Regions from separate parts of the Homo sapiens genome. Here region 1 is linked to region 2. Evidence: promoter capture Hi-C in human tissues and cell types (Jung and others, 2019). All regions are on one chromosome and are shown on one strand. Each heading gives the region's core, a stretch centred on a gene start or on the middle of the fragment in contact. The rest is flanking DNA. Distances are from core to core; before and after follow the strand shown.

What was found. Contacts are between HindIII fragments. The study calls those that stand out against the background at their distance.
Region 1: a fragment that was not itself captured here is called in contact with the fragment with the promoter of SLC4A9 in region 2 in 1 of the 25 tissues and cell types used here (thymus).

Annotation. Positions count from the first base shown.
Region 1 is chr5:140,657,068-140,661,132 of GRCh38, forward strand. IK (IK cytokine) reads left to right here. Exons shown (of 20, transcript NM_006083.4): 10 at 487-595; 11 at 1,670-1,709; 12 at 1,872-2,097; 13 at 2,248-2,266; 14 at 2,689-2,767; 15 at 3,048-3,128; 16 at 3,691-3,748. Among named protein-coding and RNA genes, the nearest start is that of WDR55, 5.8 kb to the right of the region's middle. The HindIII fragment of the contact is 4,391 bases long and covers 1-3,813 here.
Region 2 is chr5:140,358,859-140,363,340 of GRCh38, forward strand. SLC4A9 (solute carrier family 4 member 9) reads left to right here and starts at 1,336. Exons shown (of 22, transcript NM_031467.3): 1 at 1,336-1,608; 2 at 1,954-2,114; 3 at 2,396-2,509; 4 at 2,950-3,005; 5 at 3,159-3,316; 6 at 3,587-3,674; 7 at 4,054-4,208. The coding sequence starts at 1,379. RefSeq lists enhancers at 4,197-4,346, 4,217-4,482. The HindIII fragment of the contact is 12,269 bases long and covers 1-4,482 here.

The sequences.
Region 1 (4,065 bases), core at 368-2,867, 300 kb after region 2:
CGGCATGTGCCCGTAATCCCAGTTACTCGGAAGGCTGAGGCATGAGAATTGCTTGAACCCAGAAGGTGGAGGTTGCAGTGAGCCAAGATCGTGCCACTGCATTCTAGCCTGGGCGACAGAATGAGACTCTGTCTCCAAATAAATAAATAAAATGTAAATTTTTGTCTCACTACAGTTTAGAAGCTTTTAGTAGTATCTCATTCTTAGGATAAAGAGCAAAATCTTTACCATGACTTTGAGCCTCTGCAACATCTGGCCTTTCTAGAATGTTCTAGACTCCTGACTTTCTTGAATGGTCTTGATTCATTTTGATGCAGGGCTTTTGTGCAGGCTGTTTTATCTCTGGAATATCCTTTCACAGCACTTCGTTTCCCTCCCTTCACCTACTGTATTGTAATTCAGTCTTTAGTTTGTTAAGTGAATGAATGAATAAATGAAGAGATTTCTGCTGAGTGGTTTAACATTCTTGTTTCTTGGTATTTTCAGGCCCAGACCACACTGACCACAAATGACATTGTCATTAGCAAGCTGACCCAGATCCTTTCATACCTGAGGCAGGGAACCCGTAACAAGAAGCTTAAGAAGAAGGATAAAGGTACCTGGAGGGTTAGAGAGAGAAGCCTTACCCACAGAGGACGTTTGGGGATAAAACCAAGGTCTCCTGGAGCTTTCTGTCTCCAGAATATTGAGAGGCTCCTGGGAAGCAGAGAAAAATGGGAGTACTGGAGCATTGGCAAGGAGACAGTTACAGCCAGATTCTGTCTCCTTAACCTACCTAAGAAGCAGTGGTCAGGTCTGAAGCATGAGGGATGGAGAGTGGGTAGCTTATGTCCTATTTATTTATTTTTTTTAAAAGAGATTTTTTGGTGAAAACCAGAAAACCTAGACAGATTCTAAAAAGGCTCTAATACTTGACCGACATTTTATTTTATTTTATTTATTTATTTTTTGAGACGGAGTCTCGCTCTGTCACCCAGGCTGGAGTACAGTGGTGCGATGTCTGCTCACTGCAACCTCTGCCTCCCGGGGTCAAGCGATTCTTCTGCCTCAGCCTCCCAAGTAGGCACTATAGGCACTATAGGCACGCATCACCACGCCTGGCTAATTTTTGTATTTTCAGTAGAGATGGGGTTTCACTGTATTGGCCTGGCTGGCCTCGAACTCCTGACCTTATGATGTGCCCACCTCGGCCTCCCAAAGTGCTGGGATTACAGGCATGAGCCACTCTTCCTGGCCTTATTTTATTATTTTTATTTATTTATTTATTTTGAGACGAGTCTCGTTTTGTCGCCCAGGCTGGAGTGCAGTGATGCCATCTCGGCTCACTGCAACCTCTGCCTCCTGGGTTTAAGCAATTCTCTTGCCTCAGCCTCCTGAGTAGCTGGGATTACAGGCACCTGCCATCACACCCGGCTAATTTTTTTGTACTTTTAGTAGAGATGGGGTTTCACCATGTTAGCCAGGCTGGTCTCAAACTCCTGACCTCAAGTGATCCGCCCGCCTTGGCCTCCCGAAGTGCTGGGATTACAGGCGTGAGCCACCGCACCCAGCCTTGACCCACGTTTTAAACAGAAGATGTTTAAAAGGGCATTAAGAGCTGGAGAGGATGGTGAAGTTCAGTGGAAATTAACTGAGGAGTATGTTCCTGACTCCTCTCTTTAAATTTCAGGGAAGCTGGAAGAGAAGAAACCTCCTGAGGCTGACATGAAGTATGTATCCTAGCCCCTGGCATCTGATCAGAGGGAGGGGGTCTGTACATTTCTTGTGTCTGGCATTTTGGGGAGGTGCTGACATGAGAATCTGGAGAAATGGTCAGGGGGAGTGAAGGTGTATGTGTGAATTTGGCCAGCTAGTGATCTCCATTTTCCCAGTATTTTTGAAGACATTGGGGATTACGTACCCTCCACAACCAAGACACCTCGGGACAAGGAGCGGGAGAGATATCGGGAACGGGAGCGTGATCGGGAAAGAGACAGAGACCGTGACCGAGAGCGAGAGCGAGAACGAGATCGGGAACGAGAGCGAGAGCGGGACCGAGAGAGAGAAGAGGAAAAGAAGAGACACAGCTACTTTGAGAAGCCAAAAGTAGATGATGAGGTGAGATGTGGGCCCTTAGTACCAGGTGATGGAGTTGCCCCTCTCTGGAAATGTGAGCAAGGTTGGGTAAGGAATTGTTTCAAACTTGGGGGAGGGATGAGTAGGAATCTCTCATGGTAACACTAACTTCACATTTTGTGTTCTTTCCAGCCCATGGACGTTGACAAAGGTGAGTTGTACACACAGCATCTCACAGTTGCTCTAGCAGTCCTGCTTTCCCCTGGTAGGGCTCAGAGCTGGCAACGGTGGGATTGGGGGACCTCCTGGTTCTGGGTTCTTGTAAGAACTGTGTCTTGCTTTATTGAATAGGTGGAGTTCCCTCCACCTTCCTGGGCCATGGCAGGGCATATTTGCTCTTAGATATAATTCCTGTGGCCCTGGGGTTCTGAGGAGGTGAGGTAGAGGTCAAGTATGGAATGTTCTGGATACCCTACCCTCATCTCAACCAGAGTGACTCATTAATTGGAGTTTGTTTAAAACTTTGTTAGACAAAAGGGTTCTATGCCTTAAAAATGTTTTTTAAGTGTGTTGTGGGGAGGAGGTTGTGAGAGCCTCAGTTCAAGGTCTGGGCTGAGTTCTCTTTTCTCCTAGGACCTGGGTCTACCAAGGAGTTGATCAAGTCCATCAATGAAAAGTTTGCTGGGTCTGCTGGCTGGGAAGGCACAGAATCATATCCTTTATTTTAATACGTTCCTGGGTTCCAGAGAACTGGTCTCTTTACTCCAACCCCCCCTGCCTCCCTGCTCCCTCCTACCCTGCCCCTCTCCTTCCCTTTTACGCTGAATTTTGACAGAATGAAACCATCCCTTGTTCCTTCCCAGAGCACCCATAACAGCTCACAGCCCACTCAGAATTTTCATGTTGGGGCTTCTAGCCCTTGGCCCCCTCCTGGCTGAAGCTTTACAGCAATAGGTAGAATCCTGTGTAGTGTTTTCTTTAACATAGCATATGCTGAAGAAGCCAGAAGACAAAAAGCAGCTGGGAGATTTCTTTGGCATGTCCAACAGTTATGCAGAGTGCTACCCAGCCACGTATGTGAAACCTGGTTAAGGAAGGGAGGCTGGGATGATTGGGAAACAAGTTGGGGGTGAAATGGAAATTTGATTCGCTAAGTCCCAGGGCTACTTCTTTTTTTTTTTTTTTTTTTTTTGGAGACAGAGTCTCACTCTGTCACCCAGGCTGGAATGCAATGGTATAATCTCTGCTCGCTGCAATCTCCATCTCCCGGGTTCAAGCGATTCTCCTGCCTCACCCTCCCAAGTAGCTGGGATTATAGGCATGCATCACCACACCTGGCTAGTTTTTGTATTTTTAGTAGAGATGAGGTTTCACCATGTTGGTGAGGCTGGTCTTGAACTCCTGACCTCAGGTAATCTGCCCTCCTCAGCCTCCAAAAGTGCGGGGATTACAGGAGTGAGCCACTGCGCCTGGCCCAAGGCTACTTCTTACTTGGATGAACTATTTTATTAGGCTCTAAGTGGGAGGTCTAGGGGGTGGTCATTCCTATGCAGATAACCTCTTAGTCGGGTAGGTTTCCAGATGAAGCATAGGGTCAGGGTATGCAACATCTGTTTAACTCTTGCTTCTCCTTAGGATGGATGACATGGCTGTGGATAGTGATGAGGAGGTGGATTATAGCAAAATGGACCAGGTATGTAGTTAGAAGGATGGTGGGCGCCTTTGGGCAGTTATTATTTGTTTTACATGTATCTCCTTCCCCACTCCTAAAAAATCTATCTCATTTACTGGGCCCCACCCTCCTTTAGCTGCAGCAGTAGAAACAGCAGCATTGAGGGTCATGAGCAGCTTAACTATTTCAGAGTCTTTGCACAAGATCAAATGACATAGGGTCAAAAATCTATTTTTTACTTCCTATAGCAAAGTGCCAGGCTTTGATTCCCATGGTAGGCAGTAAGCAAGCATCAATGCATAAGTAGAAAGGGCAGAAAAAATTGCAGTCTTTGGAAA
Region 2 (4,482 bases), core at 86-2,585:
GGAAGCAGGGGGGTTATTACAAGAGACCAGGAAGCTACTGAAATAATTCAGGTGAGAAATGATGGTTGTTTGAATCAGGGTAGCAGTGCTGGAGGTGGGGAGATGTGGTTGGATTATGGGTATATTTTGAAGATAGAGTCAACAGGATTTGCAAATAATGGACCACATTTTCCTTTGCTCATTTAGCTCCAGGAACTCCTTCACTTACACCCCCTAGTGGGCTCCTCCATCCTCACAGGGCAGATCCCAGGGACACAGCTAAATTAGGGAATTCCTAAGTGTTGTTGGACAAAAGAATTTAAGACTCGTTAGCTGGGCAGCCAGGCACAGTGGCTTACGCTTGTAATCCTAGCACTTTGGGAGGCTGAGGCGGATGGATCACCTGAGGTCAGGAGTTTTTGAGACCAGCCTGGCCAACATGGTGAAACCCTGTCTCTACTAAAAATATAAAAATCAGCCAGGCCTGGTGGCACATGTCTGTAATCTCAGCTACTTGGGAGGCTGAGGCAGGAGAATCACTTGAACCCAAGAGGTGAAGGTTGCAGTGAGCTGAGATCACACCACTGCACTCCAGCCTGGGCGACAGAGCGAGACTCCGTCTCAAAAATAAAATAAAATAAAATAAAAGACTTAGCTGGGCATGGTGGCGTGCACCTGTAGTCCCAACTACCTTGGAGGCTGAGGTGGGAGGATCACTTGAGCTAGGAGGTCAAAGGTGCAGTGAGCTATAACTGTGCCACTACACTCCAGACTGGGTGAGAGAGTGAGACCCTGTCTCAAAAAAAAAGAAAAGAAAAGAATTTAAGACTCAGACACTAGGTCTTCCACCATTATCCCATTTAATGGGCAGGTCCTCTGCCTGCTATCTCCCTTACCCTGTCTGGCTTCCATGGACTCAATTATTTATTAGGTCCCTGTTTGTCCAAATAGGTGTGTCTGTGGCCCCAGGGGTGTGTTGGTGACACCCAAAACAGTCCTGGGTGTTTGGTATTTATATTTGATACAAGTGAGGGGGGCAGCAAAATCTGGGGGTACCAAGTCCTCAGACCCAAGCCAATCATTTACTCCTGTTTCTTTACACAAAACACAGTGGGATCAGACCTGATACCACAGGAAATGCACATACACATTTTGGCCCCAGGTTGGGCATTTCTGGAGAGCCTGGGAAAGGCCAGACTAGTCTTACAAATACTCTTATGCCAGCAGGGGGTGGGGTAAGCAAGTAGGGGAGTAGGTGACCGGTAGAGTCTGGAGTCAGCAGGCCTTGTTCTGTTTGTGTTGTGCTGCAGTGGGGGATGCATTATAAATGCAACCAGCCAGAGGGCCCCTGGCTTCAGAACCTAGGACTGTACTGGTTCTGAGATTCTGTGCAAGCCTCATGGAAATGAAGCTGCCAGGCCAGGAAGGGTTTGAAGCCTCCAGTGCTCCTAGAAATATTCCTTCAGGGGAGCTGGACAGCAACCCTGACCCTGGCACCGGCCCCAGCCCTGATGGCCCCTCAGACACAGAGAGCAAGGAACTGGGAGTACCCAAAGACCCTCTGCTCTTCATTCAGCTGAATGAGCTGCTGGGCTGGCCCCAGGCGCTGGAGTGGAGAGAGACAGGCAGGTAAGTTGGATGCAGGCCAGTTCTGTGGGATCCTTCCCCTTCCCCAGCTGGAGCCTCCTATATGTCCCCCAGCGCTTCTTATGGGGCTGCCCAAAATTAGGATTTTCCCAGCTGTGTTCCCTTATTTCAGGGTCTTACCTTCCATGATGCCCAGCCTCCTCTGCAGTCTAGTTTTGAGATCCCCAAGACCCTAGATGAGGGGTGACTGCCAGGGTGGGGGGGAGACTTCACACCACTGGGCCCAGGATGCCCTCATTGCCTTGCCTTCCCTAGCTCCTCTGCATCTCTGCTCCTGGACATGGGAGAAATGCCCTCAATAACACTGTCTACCCACCTTCATCACAGGTGGGTACTGTTTGAGGAGAAGTTGGAGGTGGCTGCAGGCCGGTGGAGTGCCCCCCACGTGCCCACCCTGGCACTGCCCAGCCTCCAGAAGCTCCGCAGCCTGCTGGCCGAGGGCCTTGTACTGCTGGACTGCCCAGCTCAGAGCCTCCTGGAGCTCGTGGGTAGGCTGGGATCCTTTGCAGGAAGGGCCTGGGTAGCCATGCCTTTTCCCCAGGATTTCCCCTCCAAAGTCTTGAAATCTTCCAGAGCCCATCCCTACCCCTCCTAGGATTGTCTACCCTTGTCACAGGGTGGACATGGAAAAGCAGGGTGGAGGAGCAAGTTCATTGGCCCTGGCATTCTGAGACTCCCAGAAGGGAAAGGTGTCTGGGCAGAGGGAGAAGGGGAAGAGTGTGCGGCAGGGAACTCTCAGGAAGGAGATGACCCCCAATCCATTCTCCAGAGCAGGTGACCAGGGTGGAGTCGCTGAGCCCAGAGCTGAGAGGGCAGTTGCAGGCCTTGCTGCTGCAGAGACCCCAGCATTACAACCAGACCACAGGCACCAGGCCCTGCTGGGGTGAGAGCCCCTCCCTGGGCCCAGGACCAAGACCCTGGTGTGGCAGGGTCTCAGATCTCCCCTGCACCTTCCAGGGCTAGAAGTAGCCCAGGCTTAGTTCAGGCTCCAACCCAGGACTCATGAGCAAGAGGAAACTGGTGGTAATGTTGTGGGGAGAAGATTCAGGGGGCTAGAATCGTAAGAGAGTTCTGTGAAGACATGTACTTGGTAGGCACTAGGCCTACCATTTGATCTTCACAGTATCTCATTTGATCTTCACAACCACCCTGTAAATAGTACCACAATTATCCCCATTTTAGTGGTGAGAAAACTGTGGCTCAGAGTGGAGAAGGGTATACTCTAATTCTTACAGCTTGTCAGTGGCAAAAGTGATTAGGGAATCCTGGTGGATCCACCCCCAAAGCCTGTGGTCTTAATCACTGCATAATCCTGTTTTGTAGGCTCTACTCATCCAAGAAAGGCTTCTGACAATGAGGAAGCCCCCCTGAGGGAACAGGTTTGTGGCCCTTCCTTGGGGTCCCTTTCCAGTGGCTGGGAGAGGGGTTAGAAATTAACAAAAGTCTACTCTCCACTGGATTTCTCATCATTTGAGATCTTATCCTCCCCAAATAACCTTTCATATTCTGTGTCTCCTTGAACCCCCATCCAGTGTCAGAACCCCCTGAGACAGAAGCTACCTCCAGGAGCTGAGGCAGGGACTGTGCTGGCAGGGGAGCTGGGCTTCCTGGCACAGCCACTGGGAGCCTTTGTTCGACTGCGGAACCCTGTGGTACTGGGGTCCCTTACTGAGGTGTCCCTCCCAAGCAGGTGAGGCTACTGAGTGAGTGGGAGTCAGGGATCCCAGAACCTAGAAGGGTCTTTACTGAGGAGGGGAAGGAGGGTCTCAGTCTGATTCTCTGAGGCTGTGGGGAGGATGGTGCTCAGGGGTCTGGGGAGAGAGTAGTGGTCAGGGCTGCATGGTAGGTGTGCAAATGAGTGTGTTTATGGGAGCTGATAGGTCAGAGCTGAGCATCAGAGGCCAGGGCTGCCCTGTGGGAAAGCAGCCTGTGAATCTCTGGGGCCTGGTTCCTTCCTCAGGTTTTTCTGCCTTCTCCTGGGCCCCTGTATGCTGGGAAAGGGCTACCATGAGATGGGACGGGCAGCAGCTGTCCTCCTCAGTGACCCGGTGAGCTGAGCAGGTGTGTGTGTGTGCGCGCGCACGCGTGCATGCCTGTGTGTGTGTGCACACATGCATACATGCATGGGCTCATGTGAGTGTGTGTGTGTGGACTCTGTATGTGTCCCTAAATACAGCAATGAGGCACAGTGAGCACTGAGACTGAAGTTTCCTCGTCTCCTAGTGCAGCCCCATTACTGGATGAGTGCTGGCACACTGTAGGCACTCAATAGATACCCACTGAATGAATGAATTAATGCATGCATAAAGGAATGTGTGAATGACTTGTCTGCCTCTGTGACTTGTGTCTGTCTAGTTTTGAGACTATGAAAATGCATGTAAGAGACCAGGTTTGCACTTACCACCCATTCTGTGCCCCCATTCCCAGCAATTCCAGTGGTCAGTTCGTCGGGCCAGCAACCTTCATGACCTTCTGGCAGCCCTGGATGCATTCCTAGAGGAGGTGACAGTGCTTCCCCCAGGTCGGTGGGACCCAACAGCCCGGATTCCCCCGCCCAAATGTCTGCCATCTCAGCACAAAAGGTACCTGGGAGCCATCATCCCATACAGATTCCTGCCCATATAGGCCCTGGGTCTAATTCCATTGTTGAGGAGGGGTGGTGTCCCAGGAAAGAGATAGGGACCTATCTTTGGATTTGGAGTCAGGCAGACCTAACTCTGAGTTCTGCTGGACTACTCTCTCGCTAAGAGACCTGAACAAAGACCTTCCCTGCCCGAGCCTGGCTTTCACAGGTCGCAATATGACCTGGACCTTCTAGAGGCCCAGGTGTCGCCATGGTTCCCTCGCCGGCAGAGA